Linked DNA regions of Homo sapiens: all the other regions are linked to region 1. The links are contacts of gene promoters, found by promoter capture Hi-C in blood cells and fetal thymus (Javierre and others, 2016). All regions are on one chromosome and are shown on one strand. Each heading gives the region's core, a stretch centred on a gene start or on the middle of the fragment in contact. The rest is flanking DNA. Distances are from core to core; before and after follow the strand shown. Region 1 holds the start of TAX1BP1 (Tax1 binding protein 1). Region 2 has its middle 64 kb from the start of LINC03007. Region 3 has its middle 52 kb from the start of MIR148A. Region 4 holds the start of SNX10 (sorting nexin 10). Region 5 overlaps LOC105375199 (a long non-coding RNA gene).

The links. Contacts are between HindIII fragments. The CHiCAGO score rates a contact against its expected background, and 5 or more counts as called.
Region 2: a contact is called between a fragment that was not itself captured here and the fragment with the promoter of TAX1BP1 in region 1, in 1 of 17 cell types (fetal thymus). The highest score is 6.4, in fetal thymus.
Region 3: a fragment that was not itself captured here is called in contact with the fragment with the promoter of TAX1BP1 in region 1 in 1 of 17 cell types (fetal thymus); the score reaches 5.0 in fetal thymus.
Region 4: the fragment with the promoter of SNX10 here is called in contact with the fragment with the promoter of TAX1BP1 in region 1 in 1 of 17 cell types (neutrophils); the score reaches 6.6 in neutrophils.
Region 5: a fragment that was not itself captured here is called in contact with the fragment with the promoter of TAX1BP1 in region 1 in 1 of 17 cell types (fetal thymus); the score reaches 7.0 in fetal thymus.

Annotation. Positions count from the first base shown.
Region 1 is chr7:27,738,861-27,741,560 of GRCh38, forward strand. TAX1BP1 (Tax1 binding protein 1) reads left to right here and starts at 1,302. Exons shown (of 17, transcript NM_006024.7): 1 at 1,302-1,409. TAX1BP1-AS1 (TAX1BP1 antisense RNA 1) reads right to left here and starts at 1,815. Exons shown (of 2, transcript NR_187572.1): 1 at 1,156-1,815. RefSeq lists enhancers at 1,237-2,099, 1,316-1,585, 2,100-2,700 and a silencer at 1,753-1,985. The HindIII fragment of the contact is 7,568 bases long and covers 1-1,763 here.
Region 2 is chr7:25,852,311-25,855,010 of GRCh38, forward strand. No RefSeq gene overlaps it. Among named protein-coding and RNA genes, the nearest start is that of LINC03007, 64 kb to the left of the region's middle. The HindIII fragment of the contact is 1,780 bases long and covers 488-2,267 here.
Region 3 is chr7:25,896,902-25,899,601 of GRCh38, forward strand. No RefSeq gene overlaps it. Among named protein-coding and RNA genes, the nearest start is that of MIR148A, 52 kb to the right of the region's middle. The HindIII fragment of the contact is 3,378 bases long and covers 1-2,700 here.
Region 4 is chr7:26,290,461-26,293,160 of GRCh38, forward strand. SNX10 (sorting nexin 10) reads left to right here and starts at 1,402. Exons shown (of 7, transcript NM_013322.3): 1 at 1,402-1,626. RefSeq lists silencers at 1,426-1,665, 1,816-1,895. The HindIII fragment of the contact is 4,940 bases long and covers 1,231-2,700 here.
Region 5 is chr7:25,954,541-25,957,240 of GRCh38, forward strand. All of the region lies in intron 6 of LOC105375199 (a long non-coding RNA gene), which reads right to left. Among named protein-coding and RNA genes, the nearest start is that of MIR148A, 5.9 kb to the left of the region's middle. The HindIII fragment of the contact is 225 bases long and covers 1,218-1,442 here.

The DNA of each region.
Region 1 (2,700 bases), core at 52-2,551:
TCATTAACTGAAAATTAGTGGTAATTAAAAATGTATTACATATAAATAGGAATGTGATTTAAACAAAGAGTGACATCTCTGACAAATTGTGCTTATAAAATTCACTGCTATGTTTACATTTCTTAAGGGACACAGTTATTTCTACTACCAGAAGGTTGCTACCAGTAACGCAAGTGATAACTTATGTTGATTATTCACACCGTTTTCTTCATCCATAAAATAAGGAGACTGGGACTAAATGGCCTATTAAGGTTCTTCTGAAATTCTATGATCAAGTATAATACCCAGCACAAGACCAAGTTCAAAAATGTCAATACACAGGAAACAAATCAGTCTGTAAATATTGAGAACCTATGTTATCAAAGCTAATGTCTTCTGAAATAACTGGAAGTAAAGATGAAAGTATATGAAAGATAATTTTGAATGTTCTGTATTTAGAATGTGCTTCAACATTTAATGCGATCTAATTTACATATCCTTTCTGGTGCTATTGCAAGGTTTGTCAGGGTTTTACGGCAACAGAAGACTATGATGAATTCGAATGGGACACATTTGCTTCTGTGGAGTTACGATTCAAACTGAATGTCCAATATAGGAAGGCAACATATACAACAAGCAAAAGTGATTTTAGAAATAACAGAACGCGGGAGAAAATTCACACACGGAAAATGATACGGATAACAAAAGCAGGTAACTCACAGAAATGCGGCTAGAAAAGAGGCCTCTGCTGGAGCGAGAGCAAATAGAATCAGAGGGCATTAGAACTGAAAAGCTCCTAGGAGCTTTCAGTGAACAAAACTTCATAGCCAAAAAAGCACACGACTGGGCCAGGAGTTCAGAGACAGTCTTGGTGCTCAGGGGTTTGCAGCCCTAGCCGTGTGGTCACTCCCTTGCTTCTCTGGCTATTTCCTTATCTATAAAATGAGTGGGCTAGTTTAGGCCGACTGAGACGCAGACAGGGATACGGTACTGTCCATGGACCTCTGAGCTGCCCTTTCCACATCGCTGGTGAGTTACTTAAACCTCCTGTGTGTTTCCCCCTTTCGTATGTCAAAATAATAACATAAAATCAGAATGTAAATCCAGACGCATTGTTTTGCTGCGATTAAGTTGAACGAAAATAGCAAGGACGAAGTAAGGAGAGAGCCAGCCTACCCGCGGGATGAGGCGTCCCGCGGCGGAGTGGGCTGGGGGCGTGTCGTCGCGGAGGGGAGCGGCGAACCAGGCAGGAGGCGGAAGAGACCGCCCCGTGGGCGGAAGTGACGCAAGGCCTACTGTCGGCTGGGAGGGGAGGTGTAGCCGGTCTTTGGGGGTAGGCGGTAGTGGCGGAAGAGGTTCGGCGGCTGATGGCGGATCAGGATCGGAAGCCTGCGTAACTTTCTCCCTTGATCCGGGAGTCTTTCCACTGGGTAAGGCGCCTCCCCGGTCCACCCCAGCGCCTTGTGCGGGGCGGCCTCCAGCTGCATCTCTTTTAGGGCTCGTGCTACACCCTTCAGCCCCTGTACTGTAGGGGCCTGGCCGGTCTCGGGAGAGGTCTCTGTGGTGACGAGGCTTTCCTTCCCGAAGACAAACCTTCCTTTCCAGACTGCGATTGTGACGGGGGTGTGGGCGACTCGGATCAGCTGTGGAGTTTTGGAATGGCAACGGGTGGCCGCCCCACGCGGTGGGAGGCCCGTGGGACAGGCCTTCGCGATTTGGGGGAGGCGTGTGGGACGGGGGCCCTTTGGCTGGGGACGAGTGACGCTGGCGACCCCCGAAGGAAAAGCTTCTGGTGTCCAAGGCTAAACTCTGGGGTGACTGTTTTGAGGGCAGTGTGGGTTTTACCGGCGCAGTAAGCTGAGAAAACACGTAGGTCGCGTCCGAGAAGGACGCTGGGGTTTGCCTTTGCGGAGAGAAACCCAGCTGTTTTGGTTTGAGTCGCCGGTGGCGAAGGGGGCGGAGACTCCCTGCGCCGCCTACTTTTGAGGGCCGCGGGCGGAGTTGGCGGTTCTGGCTGATGGCCTGCTTCACCTGGAATCCATTCCCCACCCCGCCCCGTTCGCAAGGTGTGGACTAGTCCCGACCGACTTGCACTCCTGGCTTAGGGAATCTGTGGCTAGAGTTTAGCGTGCGCGCGCGCGCGTACACCTTATTAGTAAAAAATTGAGCTTAGCGTGCGTCTGTGTGGGTGTGTGTACACACCTTATTGGTAAAAGTTTTGTTAGAAAACACTGGCATTTGACTTTAGACATACACAGTGTTAGATTTCCGGTTTCACACAGTGGTTATGAATTGCTATTATGTTAGGCTTTAGATGGGAAAATAAATCTTGATTTTTCAGCTGTCTGCATTCTGCTAATGTTAAAATTTCTACGAGCTGTGCACGAACAATTAATAGTTACAAGTTTGGTGCTCAATTCCTAAAGGATTTAAAGAGATCATTTGAATAGAAACTAAAAGTGGGTCGATCGTCCTCAAAGTGCTTTTCGGGTTTAGGGAAGGAGCTTAGGACAGCCTTTCTCTTTCGTTCTGTTCCTTTCAAGGGTAAACTTGAAGGATTGTTTGATGATGCCGACTTCTAATAAGGTTTTATTTATTTTTCAAACTGATTGTTCAACTTCAAAGAACATTGTAGTTTTTGTTTTCTAGTCATCACGTTCTTTTTTTTTTTTTTTCCTTGAGATGGAGTCTTGCTCTGTCTCCCAGGCTGGAGTGCAGTGG
Region 2 (2,700 bases), core at 128-2,627, 1.9 Mb before region 1:
GGGACTGGGTGGAGCAGCCTTCAGGCCGCCCCGGCCCCTCGTGGGAATGCGCCGCGCCCCCCGGACTCTGGAGCGGCCCGACCCTGCTTCCCAGGCCCCGGGCAGGCGGGCGGGCGAGACACAAAGCAGGCCCCGCGGGCGGTGCTCCGGGTTTCGCGAGGGCGGCGGTGCGCTTGATTGATGGATTCACGGCGTTTAACCCCCGCCGCCTCGCCGGAGGCGGCCGATCCAGCTGCGGCCGAGGGCCTAGGGTGGCCATGGGCCCGGCCCCCGCGTCCTCCGCGCCCCCGCCCCGGCTCGGGAGGGCTGCCCCCCGGGAGTGGAGAAAGGCTGATTTACAGCCGGCCGGCCGCACTCTTGCAAAATCACTGCGGCCGGGGAAACCCACTCCCAGGACTCAGCCCGGAAGAGGCCCTGAAGGGGAGCGGAGACTGGGCGCTGGGGTGGGGGCGGGGGCGCCGAGCCTCAACTTCCCGCGTCTGCTGGAAGCTTGCTCTGAGCGCCGGCTGCGGCGTTTTCCCGCCTTCTGCCCACGTTTTCGCCCGGGAGTGGGTTTCAGGAGAGCTGGGGACAGCGGCATCCCTCGCCCTGGGACCGTTGCCCCTGCGCCCGCCGCCCTGTGCCTGGGCCTTTGCACCCGGAGCGCCCCGCGCCCCAGCGCAGTCGTCCCCACGCGCCGGGATCGCCAAATTCCCACCTGGGGCCCGCCTTTACTGGGGGGCTGCAAAAGAGACTTAGAAGCAGAGATTCGGGAGGGGAGCTGATAGCTCCCGAGTCCTAAGCCACGCCTGGACAGCCCACAGGTCCCATCTCCATTTGTTTAAACACTTTTTGCCCCGTTTTCTGCAGGGCAGAAGACAAATATTAAGAGAGCAAGATTGTGCTTAGAAACTTAAGGTTCTCTTTTAAAAGACTCGTTCCTTCAGGTCTTCCTTCTTACCACCTAAGGGAAAAAAGTACCCCCTAAAATTCTTGCTTTACTTTTAGCAATTCTTACTTCAGTTTTACTATTGATACCCTCCGATCTTTTTCAAGAGGAAAAAAAAGCCAGATAGTGAAATAAAATAAGAAACGTATGGTTTCAACTTGAACTAACGAATCAGAAGTGTTGATTCTAAACTAAAAAGTGTTACTACTTTTTTTGCTTATATGTGCCTGGGTAGGATGAGTTTTCCTACAGCCTGCGAAGTTGGTCACTAGAAACAGGGGCTGGTGAAAATGTGCAGATTCTTGCCCTGCAGACACTAAGGATCTGGTGCTGGGCTAGAAAATTCACCCACAGTTAGGATGTCAGAGGGAGATATAAGTAAACGTCGGCACCCAACTCATTAGTTTCTGGCTAAATAAAAGTCAACCGACAGAGCACAAAACAACAGATCCAATGAATCCACCTTCTTGTAAAATGAGGGCTAATGGCTGTATTCTGAAAGATTTTTTTAGGTAGACTTATTTTTAAAGGCCGGTTGCAATTTTAAAATGCATAATTATAGGGTAGAGTAATCAAAAGTGAGTGTGCAATTATTCTGCTTGTATAAATGGGAGAAGAAGTCATGAAGTTTCCCAGCTAGAGAGCTGTCGACCTGTAAAATGTAAAAATGTACATCTAAAGCTGTGAAACTTCTCACTTGAGTACAGTATTTTCTTCTTTCCTCCCGTCTCCCTCTGCAAATACCGTAAGTTCTTATTCTGACCTTGATGTGGGGACAGCACGAACCCTTCTCTTCCTGATAAACCCAAACAGAAAAGCAGATATAAAAGGAGAGGCAGATGAGAAGTGGAGGTCTACACTTTCCAGGGTTCCACCCTCAAATCCCCCGCCGAGGTTGGCAAAACAAAGATTCTGCCCCCTACTACAGTGACTTGTGAGTGGAAAGAAAGTCTTGCCTATCTGTCATAGGGACCCCAAAATGAATTCCTAAAAAAGCAACGCTGCTCTAACAGCAACTGGATCGGAAAGCAGAGAAAGCAGAGATGCAACCTCGGCCCTGTGGCTCCGGCCAGGCTCTGCTCCAGTGAGACCACTCGCTGGGAAACTGAGTTTCCCCCTCGATTTCAGTTTAGTCCCTAAAAAGTTCGCCCGGCCCTGCAAACACCACGCTCAGAAACGCAGCGGCCTCTTACTCTTACCTTTTTAAAGCGTGCTTAAGGTGCTTACTTCGCTTAAGGAAATATTTTTGCAAACACTTTCACTGGATGAATATTTTACTCGCAAACTTTCCTGGGCAAAATCTCCGGAGGAAGTTTCACATTAAAGCAACAACCAACAAAGCTTATTTTTGTAATATGTGGCTCTCTAACAGTGCCAGTATGTTCTCACTTCATTTAGTTATAAAATATAAAAGTGTTTGGTTTTCAATTTTTCTAAATTACTTGCAGGGTACAAGGTGGGGGTGGAGATGGTGAGAAGGGGATCCTTATGCCATCTGGCGGTGCCATGTGGAACTTCGCTGAAGAAGCTAAATTTACTGACCATCTGTGCCTAGAGCGGGTTTCTCCAAGGAAAGGCTCTGTAAATCTCGTCCTTTTGAAATCTAGGGGAAAACAGCCTCCTTCACTGAGGATTAATTTAAAGAAAGGGGGAAATAGGAAAATTCCATGCGTTGGAAGTCCATTTAGATTTCTACATGAACCATCATATATGTGCACTACATAATTCTTATTTTTTTATTTTTAAAAAAGGGATAATTTATATTCCAGTGA
Region 3 (2,700 bases), core at 119-2,618, 1.8 Mb before region 1:
TATTCAATTTTTATAATGTTACATAGACAGTTTTTCTGGATTATATGTAATGGTTTCCAGCATTAGCTTCTCTGCTAATTGGAAACGTTGGGCATGGGAGCATACATATTCCAGTGGTGTTGAAGAAGGTTGCTTCCAGAATTGATCTAGCTATATTACAATTCGGGCACCATCAAAGAACCATTGGGTATTTTTCATGGCAAGCCTGCCATAAACTCACCCAGTGAGAACTTCTCAGGGCTTTCATTCTCCTGGCGTAAGTGGGTTTTTTCCAAAGCAGACCAACAGCTCTCACTTGAGAACTCAAGTTTTCCAGCTCTCATTTCCCCAGTCTGCCCCAAGCGAGTCAAACAGTGTCAGTACTGTCTCCCGCAGCACCTTGAGGGCTGGTGCCTGTGTTTTCCCGAAATGAGGGTAGACGTGGTTCATGCAGACTGGAGGAGAGTCCCTGAACTCACAAAATGTCTCCTCGGCCTTAATGCTTTCCAAGTTGGGAGATTTATGTTGCAACCTTGAGAAGGGCAGAGTAAATACAGAGCCTGCCAGCTATTTGTTTTCCTGTTGATGAATTCCCCAAATTCAGACTGGAAGCCCTCCAAGAACTGAAGTCTCTTCAAAAGGCAAAGTGTTAACCCTGAATCCTTCAGCTGCTTTTGCCACGTCTTTCTCCCCCACCCAGAAAGCTCCAAAGTATCTCTGAGGTTGTGTTCGCTGTATATGAAGCTCTCCGATGACTCTTCCTTTTTATCACACAAAACAAGCCAGGGCCAAAGACCACGGAGGAAGAAACCAGCTTACCACATGGTGCAGGGATCTTGCAAGAGCTTCTCCTAGTGAGGCTCCCTAGAGCCTCACTCCTACACATTCAGTATAGCTTTCTTTAGTCATGAAAGTGATTCCACTACCTAGTCAAACTTTGCTAGCTTGAAATATTTGCCACATGCTCTATTGCAATTGTGGTTTTCATCTTTAAATCATACATCCTTAATCTTCTCCTTGGAAATGTAACAAATTAGCACCATATTTTTGTTTGTTAGTTTTTCCTGAACATGAACCATACAGTTTATGAACCAATCTAGATAAAATGACCATTTTTAATCCCCAAATCACTCTTTATTTTTAGTGTTTAGTCTCACTGGCTGCTTTTATAATTTAAAAATTTTTAAATATAATCTTTTTTTCTGATTATAAAATTACATCTTATTTATAGAAAACATGGGAAATGGGTATTAAATGTAAAAAATTGTATTTGTAATCTCATTAGTCACAGTTAGGCCTTAACATTTTGGTATACATCTTGTTTCTCTGCTAGTTATTCTATCTGGATGATGACTTTTTTCATTTGATCTTATATAATAAATATTTTCACATTATTTCCATAATTTTTTTTTTTTTAAGACAGGGTCTCATTCTGTCACCCAGGCTAGAGTGCTGTGGCATGATCATGGCTCACTACACCCTTGAGGTGATCCTCTCACCTCAGCCTGCTGAGTAGCTGAGACCACAGGTGTGCACCAACATGCCAGCTAATTTTTGTATTATTTGGTAGAGACAGGGTTTTGCCATGTTGCCCAGGTTGGTCTCAAACTCCTGGGCTCAAGCAATCCACCCACCTCAGCCTCCCAAAGTGCTGGGATTACAGGCATGAGCCACTGCACCCAGAACCACAATGTTCTTAACTAACCTTTTATTGTTGGAATTATAAGTAGCATTCCAGTAAACATATTTCTATGTAAACCTTCGGCTAATATCACATTAATTTCTTAGGATAGATTCCTTTAAGTAGAATTACTGGGTCAAAGTGTAGAAACAGTATTAAGGTTCTCAATACATTTTGCCAAATTGCTTTTTCCAAAGGATGCATATCAGTTTGTGCTCCCACCACAGTGAGTGAGACTGGCTGGCTTGCTGTGCCCTCATCCACATCCAGGATAGCTGTGTTTGCCTCTGGGCCTACACAATAGACACCTCCACTGAAACAGGTGGTGTGGCCCAGGTTTGGGAAGGGCTTAGACTGGGAGTCAGGAGACCTGGCCTTGAATTTGGATTCTCCTATTATGTAGCTCTGTGACATCGCAGAAAACCCTTAGCAGCAAGAATAAAAATTGGGAACAGACTACCAAAATAAGGTAATGAACGTGAAAATGCTCTGTAAATGCAAAATATGAGGACTTATTATGGCAAGGCACCTATCTGTTGCTACTGGTACCTAAATTTCCGTGCTAAAATTAGAAACTGGGTTTATAATGTAAATTATAAACAAAAAATAAAATTTTATGGAAATATTGACTTAAGGTTTCCTTCTTAAATATAAGAGATAGGTGACTTTCTTATTAGCATACTTTCTCCCATCTCTTTCTGAGCTTACCCCCAAAAAATTCTGCAGCATCTGAATCCCAGGTGAGCCTGCCTAACTTTAATATGTGAAATAAAGTTGTATATTGTCTTGGATTATGCAAACTAAGCTGGTAATGAAAAGTGTTTTTTTTTTTTTTATTTTTATGTTTTAGAGACAGGGTCTTGCTCTGTCACTCAGGCTGGAGTGCAGCTGCATGATCATGACTCACTGCAGCCTCAACCTCCCGGGCTAACGTCATCCTTCTGCCTCAGCCTCCCGAATAGCTGGGATTACAGGCATGCACCACAAAATCTGGCTAATCTTTTATTTTTTGTAGAGACAGGATCTTATTATGTTGCCCA
Region 4 (2,700 bases), core at 152-2,651, 1.4 Mb before region 1:
TGACCTCGTGATCCGCCCGCCTCGGCCTCCCAAAGTGCTGGGATTACAGGCGTGAGCCACCGCGCCCGGCCCAAGTTACCAGTCTTAATAGGGTCAAAATTCTAACAGATATTCAAATGACTTTCAGTAGACTCTCCAAGGGTTTGTTGCTGCTTTGTCTACAGCTGTAAAGTCATGCTCTTGACAATAAGTTCAGAAAGATTTTAATTTTACAGAATCTCTTAGGATCTTAGATACATGCTGCATTTTGTTTTCTACTCAATGTTTTTCTTTGCGGAGCATAGGGACAAGAATATAAAAAATACACTTTAATTTGATTTTCTTTCTTTTTTTTTTGAGACAGAATCTTGCTCTGTCGCCCAGGCTGGAGTGCAATGGCATGATCTCGGCTCACTGCAACCTCTGCCTCCCGGGTTCAAGCTATTCTCCTGCCTCAGCCTCCCGAGTAGCTGGGATTACAGGCGCGCGCCACCACGCCCAGCTAAGTTTTTGTATTTTTAGTAGAGACGGCATTTCACCATGTCAGCCAGGATGGTCTCCATCTCCTGACCTTGTAATCCACCCGCCTCGGCCTCCCAGAGTGCTGGGATTACAAGCGTGAGCCACCACACCAGCTTAATTTGATTTTCAAAAGTGATCATGGTTGCATTCACTTGTGTGTCATGACTTGGGTGCAATTTTAGGAAATTAAATACCAGTGATTGAGGGTTCAGCAATACAACTTCAAGATCCAAGATGTTAAGACACAACATTGTATATTTATACGTTTTGTTAGGGAGTTAATGTAGGTGTGGTGAACAGATGCGTTTTCAGGTGGGCCTGGAATGGTCCCTGGAGGATGATCAGCGACAAGCTGTATCTAATGGGAAAATTCATGCTTGAAAAATGAAATATTAGGCTATGCTTATTATTCTGTGTCATTCAGTCACTTATTAGCAGTTTAAGTGATGATTGTGGTTTCCCATGCAAACAGGTGTGGGGACCCAGCCTCAGGTGCCATTTGGGAAATGCTTTCCTCAGTCAGGTCCCTTGGCAGATCTCATTAGCTTTCCCCCCAAATGTTTTATTGAGACATTTCAAACATAGACAAAAACTGAAATAATTTTATATAAACACCATAGCCCACCACCTAGATGCTATGAACATTCTGCCATTCTTGTTTATCACGTTATTTATCCGTCCTCCTCCCCATCGGCAATCCTCCCCATAACTGTGGGGTCAGGGTTAGGAAGCTTAAGGTGACTCAGGTGGCGAATTCCGAAGGGTGCCGCTGGAGCACCTCCAGCCTCAACGTCCGGACTAATGGGGGCATTTCCTCCCTAACTCAATTTCAGGAAGCAGGAGGCTAGCTCTGCAGGGTGGGGGCGCACCTGGGCTGGGCTGCGCGGAGGCGGCGGAAGCACTAGGCGCGGCGCCCACAGGCGGACGGCTGGCGCTGAGCGCGGGCGCGGGGCCGCTACGTGCGCGGGGAGCGCGGGGAGCGCGGGGAGCGCGGGGCTGCGCTCGTGTGCGCTCCTGGGCGCTCGCCGCCGCCGCTGCCGCCGCGCGCCTTTGAGTCAGCAAACTCCGCGGCCCGCAAGCCCGGCTCGGCCCGGCCCTGCTCTGTTCTGCCCGGAGGAGCCGCCCGTAAGTGACAAGAGACCCGCTGAGGGGGCCTCCCCTGCACCGCCCAGGTGGGGACGGCGGCCCTTCTTTCCAGAGGCGCGGGCCCTTCCCGCTGTTCCCAGGTGCCCGCACCCTTGCGGGCTGGAAAGAGGTTTGGGTCCCTTGGGCTTGGAGCAGAGGAGCCGCCTCCTTTTCAGCCGAGGTGTGCCGGGCAGGGAGAAATGATCAGCGCGGTAGAGCGGGGAGATGGAGCGCGTCGATCCAGGGATTCTTGGCTAAAAAGACACCCCGGGGAGAGGGTGGGGCAGAGGTGGATTCTAGATTACGGAAGAAGTGCTGTGGCACCTTACACCAGGCCGGGTAGAAGGGGGTGGGGAGGTGGTTTTTAAAATTTATTTATTTATTTTTTTATTCATTCATTAACGGGTAGCCTTGAGTTGAGGAATTGGGAGGGGTAGGCAGGTTTATTCGTGGGATTGTGGGATTGAGGGAGAAGGCCCAGGGGAAAATCCATATAATTGACTGATTATCAGATTTGGTGACCAGGAAAGCAACAGCCTGTTTTTCAGTTCCGATGCATCATACTTTTCTCAAATTACACGGATTATTGAGGGGGATCGTCACGGAATGGGGAGCAACATGTCCTGCTGAAAGGAAGGGCTTCTATCTCTACAAGACACGTTAAAAATGATGGTATCAGAAAATTAGAACGGGGAGGAGGCTTGCACATGATCTCCATCAAACCTTTCATTTTACAGACAGGGAGGCTAAGGCCGAGGGACGCTGAGTGTTGGGACCAGGATCATTCAGCCAGATGGGAGCAGAACCAGGCCTACAACCTGGCAGGCTTCTGACTTCCACCCCGGAGTTATGTCCACCTCTGGGGCCTGGGAACTGGGTTTGGATTGCATAAGCTCCCCCTCCTCTCCCAGGAGGGGGCTGGGCTGGAGGCTGAGGCCTTCGCCAGGAAGAAGCAGGGACTGCTTGGATAGTTGACCAGCTTCTGCAGGGGCTCCTCAGTGAGAGAATGGAGGTGAGGTCAGGGACTCCTGCCTTGCCTCTGCCATCACTTCCAGTGATGCCTATTCCTAAGGT
Region 5 (2,700 bases), core at 80-2,579, 1.8 Mb before region 1:
GGATTGGAATGTGGATATTTTGGGGCCATTGTTCTGTCTACCATGTTGGGCTAAAGTCAAGGTGTCAGCAGGGGTGCATTCCTTTCTGGAGTACCAAAAGGAGAAATCCATTTTTTGGTTTTTCAGTTTCTAAAGGTTTCCCGCATTCCTTGGCTCTGGCCTCCTCCTCCACCTTCAAAGCCAGCAAAGGCTGGTTGAATCATTCTCACATCGCATCACTCTCATGCCGCCTCTTGTGTCTCCCTCTTCCTTTCTGATTGCGTTGGGCCTACCTGGGTAATCTAGGATATTCTTGCTATTTCAGGATCAGCCAATTACCAACCTTAATTTTGTCTGCTATCTTAATTCTCCTTTGCCATGTAACATAACGCATTCACAGGTTCCTGGGATTAGTATGTGGACATTTCAGGGAGGCTGTCATTCTGCCTGCCACACTGCCTATCACTGATGGTGATAATCTACATCATAGGGTTGTGCAGAAGATTAAAGCATCCACACATGAAGAGTGTTTACAAAATGCCTAGCATTTTGTAAGAAGCACTCCATAATAACTAGCACAGAGTAAGCATTTCATAATAATGATCCGTTATAGTTATTATCTAGAAAGGAAATACAAAACAGAGAATAGTTGCATCTGAAGGTGGGATTAAAACTGATTTTTATTTTCCTCATTTTGCTAATTTTTTTTCTTTTTCTACCATGAACGTGTATTATTACTTGGGTACTTTAAAAATTTTAAATATAAATGAGAAAAAACCATTAAAGGAGGTTGTCACATAGGAGAATAATTTAATTTGGGGTTAGAAGGCCCAGGTGCTCACCTCAGCAATGGTACAAACACAAATTGTGATACTGGGCGAGTTACTTTACCTCCGTGCACTTCAGTTTTCCTCCTCAGTAACATGAGAGAGATGAACTATGTATTTCAAATGGTCCTTCCAGTTCTAAATGCTCTGCACCTAACATGTTAAAAATCAACAGATTGATAAATGGATTTTAAAAACCCATGCTGCTTAGTACATAAAGAATCCCAGCTGCTTTGCCTATGGAGTAGCCATTTTTTTATTCCTTTACTTTCTTAATAAACTTGCTTTCACTTAAAAAAAAAAAAAAGAACTCCACAAAATCAGTAAGAAAAAAGACAGCGCTATAGAAAAAAAAGAGTGGAAAAGGCATAAACAAGCATTGCACAGAAAAAGAAAAGCAAATGGCAAATAAGCTTAGGTAAAGATGTTAAGCCTCATTAGAAACAAGGAAATGTAATTTAAGACTTCAGTGAGATATCATTTTATACCCACTAGGTTGGCAAAAATTCACAAGCCTGACAACATCAATAGATGGAGATGATGTAAATCAGTGGCATTTGGGGTCTTTTCACACAACGGATTATTATACAGCACTGAAAATGAATGAACTACAGCTCCTCACAAAGCTATGGATGAAGCTTGGAAACATAATGTTGAGCAAAAAAAAAAGAAGATGGAAAAAAGCAAGTCCCAGGAGACTAAGATATAACGATGCCATTTTTATAAAGCTCAAACACAGCCAAACAATATAATTTTAAGAAATTTATAAAGTGATAAAAAGCAAGAAAATGATAAATAGAAAATTCGGGTTAGTGGTTGCTGGTAGGACGTGGAGGGAAGGAGGGTGAGAAGGCAGCCCAAAGGTGGATGCAATTGGCAATGTTCCTGTTCTTAAATTGGACATAACACTTAGGCTAGTAAGTGTTCAGTATATTATGTTTTGTGATTTGCATATGTGAGAGATATATATATTTTATATGTACCAAATATTAGATTTAAATTTTTTTTTAAGAATTCTGTTTAGGGGCTTCTGTATTCTAATCTAAGATGCTTTACTTCTTGGAGTTGAGGCTAATCACTAAGTTTCCCTTCAAACTCATAAAAGCCAACTCTTTATTGGCAATTTGCTATTTGTAATCCCTCTAGTTAAACAGACTTCATAACAGCCACCCACATCTGGGCTTGTGCAAAAAATGTTTTCAGTTTATGCTCCAAATGAGCCTCATTTTCTCTGAGAACTACACTGCACTCCCAGAGTTGGGGGGTATACCAGCAGGAGCAGTACCTCCAAAAGTCTCTTGGAGCGTGCCCTCTGTGTGCCTCCGGAGCCCTTCCTTCATCTTGCCTGCAGCTAGCCATTTGGGCAGCTTCTGCAGCTAGGGCTGAGCTATACAGTTCATAAATATCCCACTTAGCCCATGTGAAATTGTCTCTACTCTGATTGATTACAGTTTTGATTTTAATGCTGAAAAATCACATTCTGTGTGCTCCTGACTTGTCTTCTGTTGTTTTATAAGGTTTGTCCATCTGGCCAAGACATCATCTAGAGTGGCTTGGTCTCACAGTCCTGCAACAATCTGGCATTAGTGTTATTTTTGACTTTGATTCCATCTTTGATTCCATAGTCTCCCAAAGAATAAGCCAGTTTTGTTTGATGTAGTTTTCTACTTCCTTGACTCTAAACGCAGCATTTGGAAGTAATTATCAGAACTCACAGGTACTTTAAATATCATTGTTTCCACTGAAAGGACTGGCTTACATAGGGTTCACCAAATGAAGCGGATGCTTAGCACATGGAGGAGGGATGAAGGTGGTCTTAGGGCAGCAGTAATATTTGGCACCCAAACATTGCCGCTTACATCCACCTTTGGATGTTGGATGCTACAGACACACA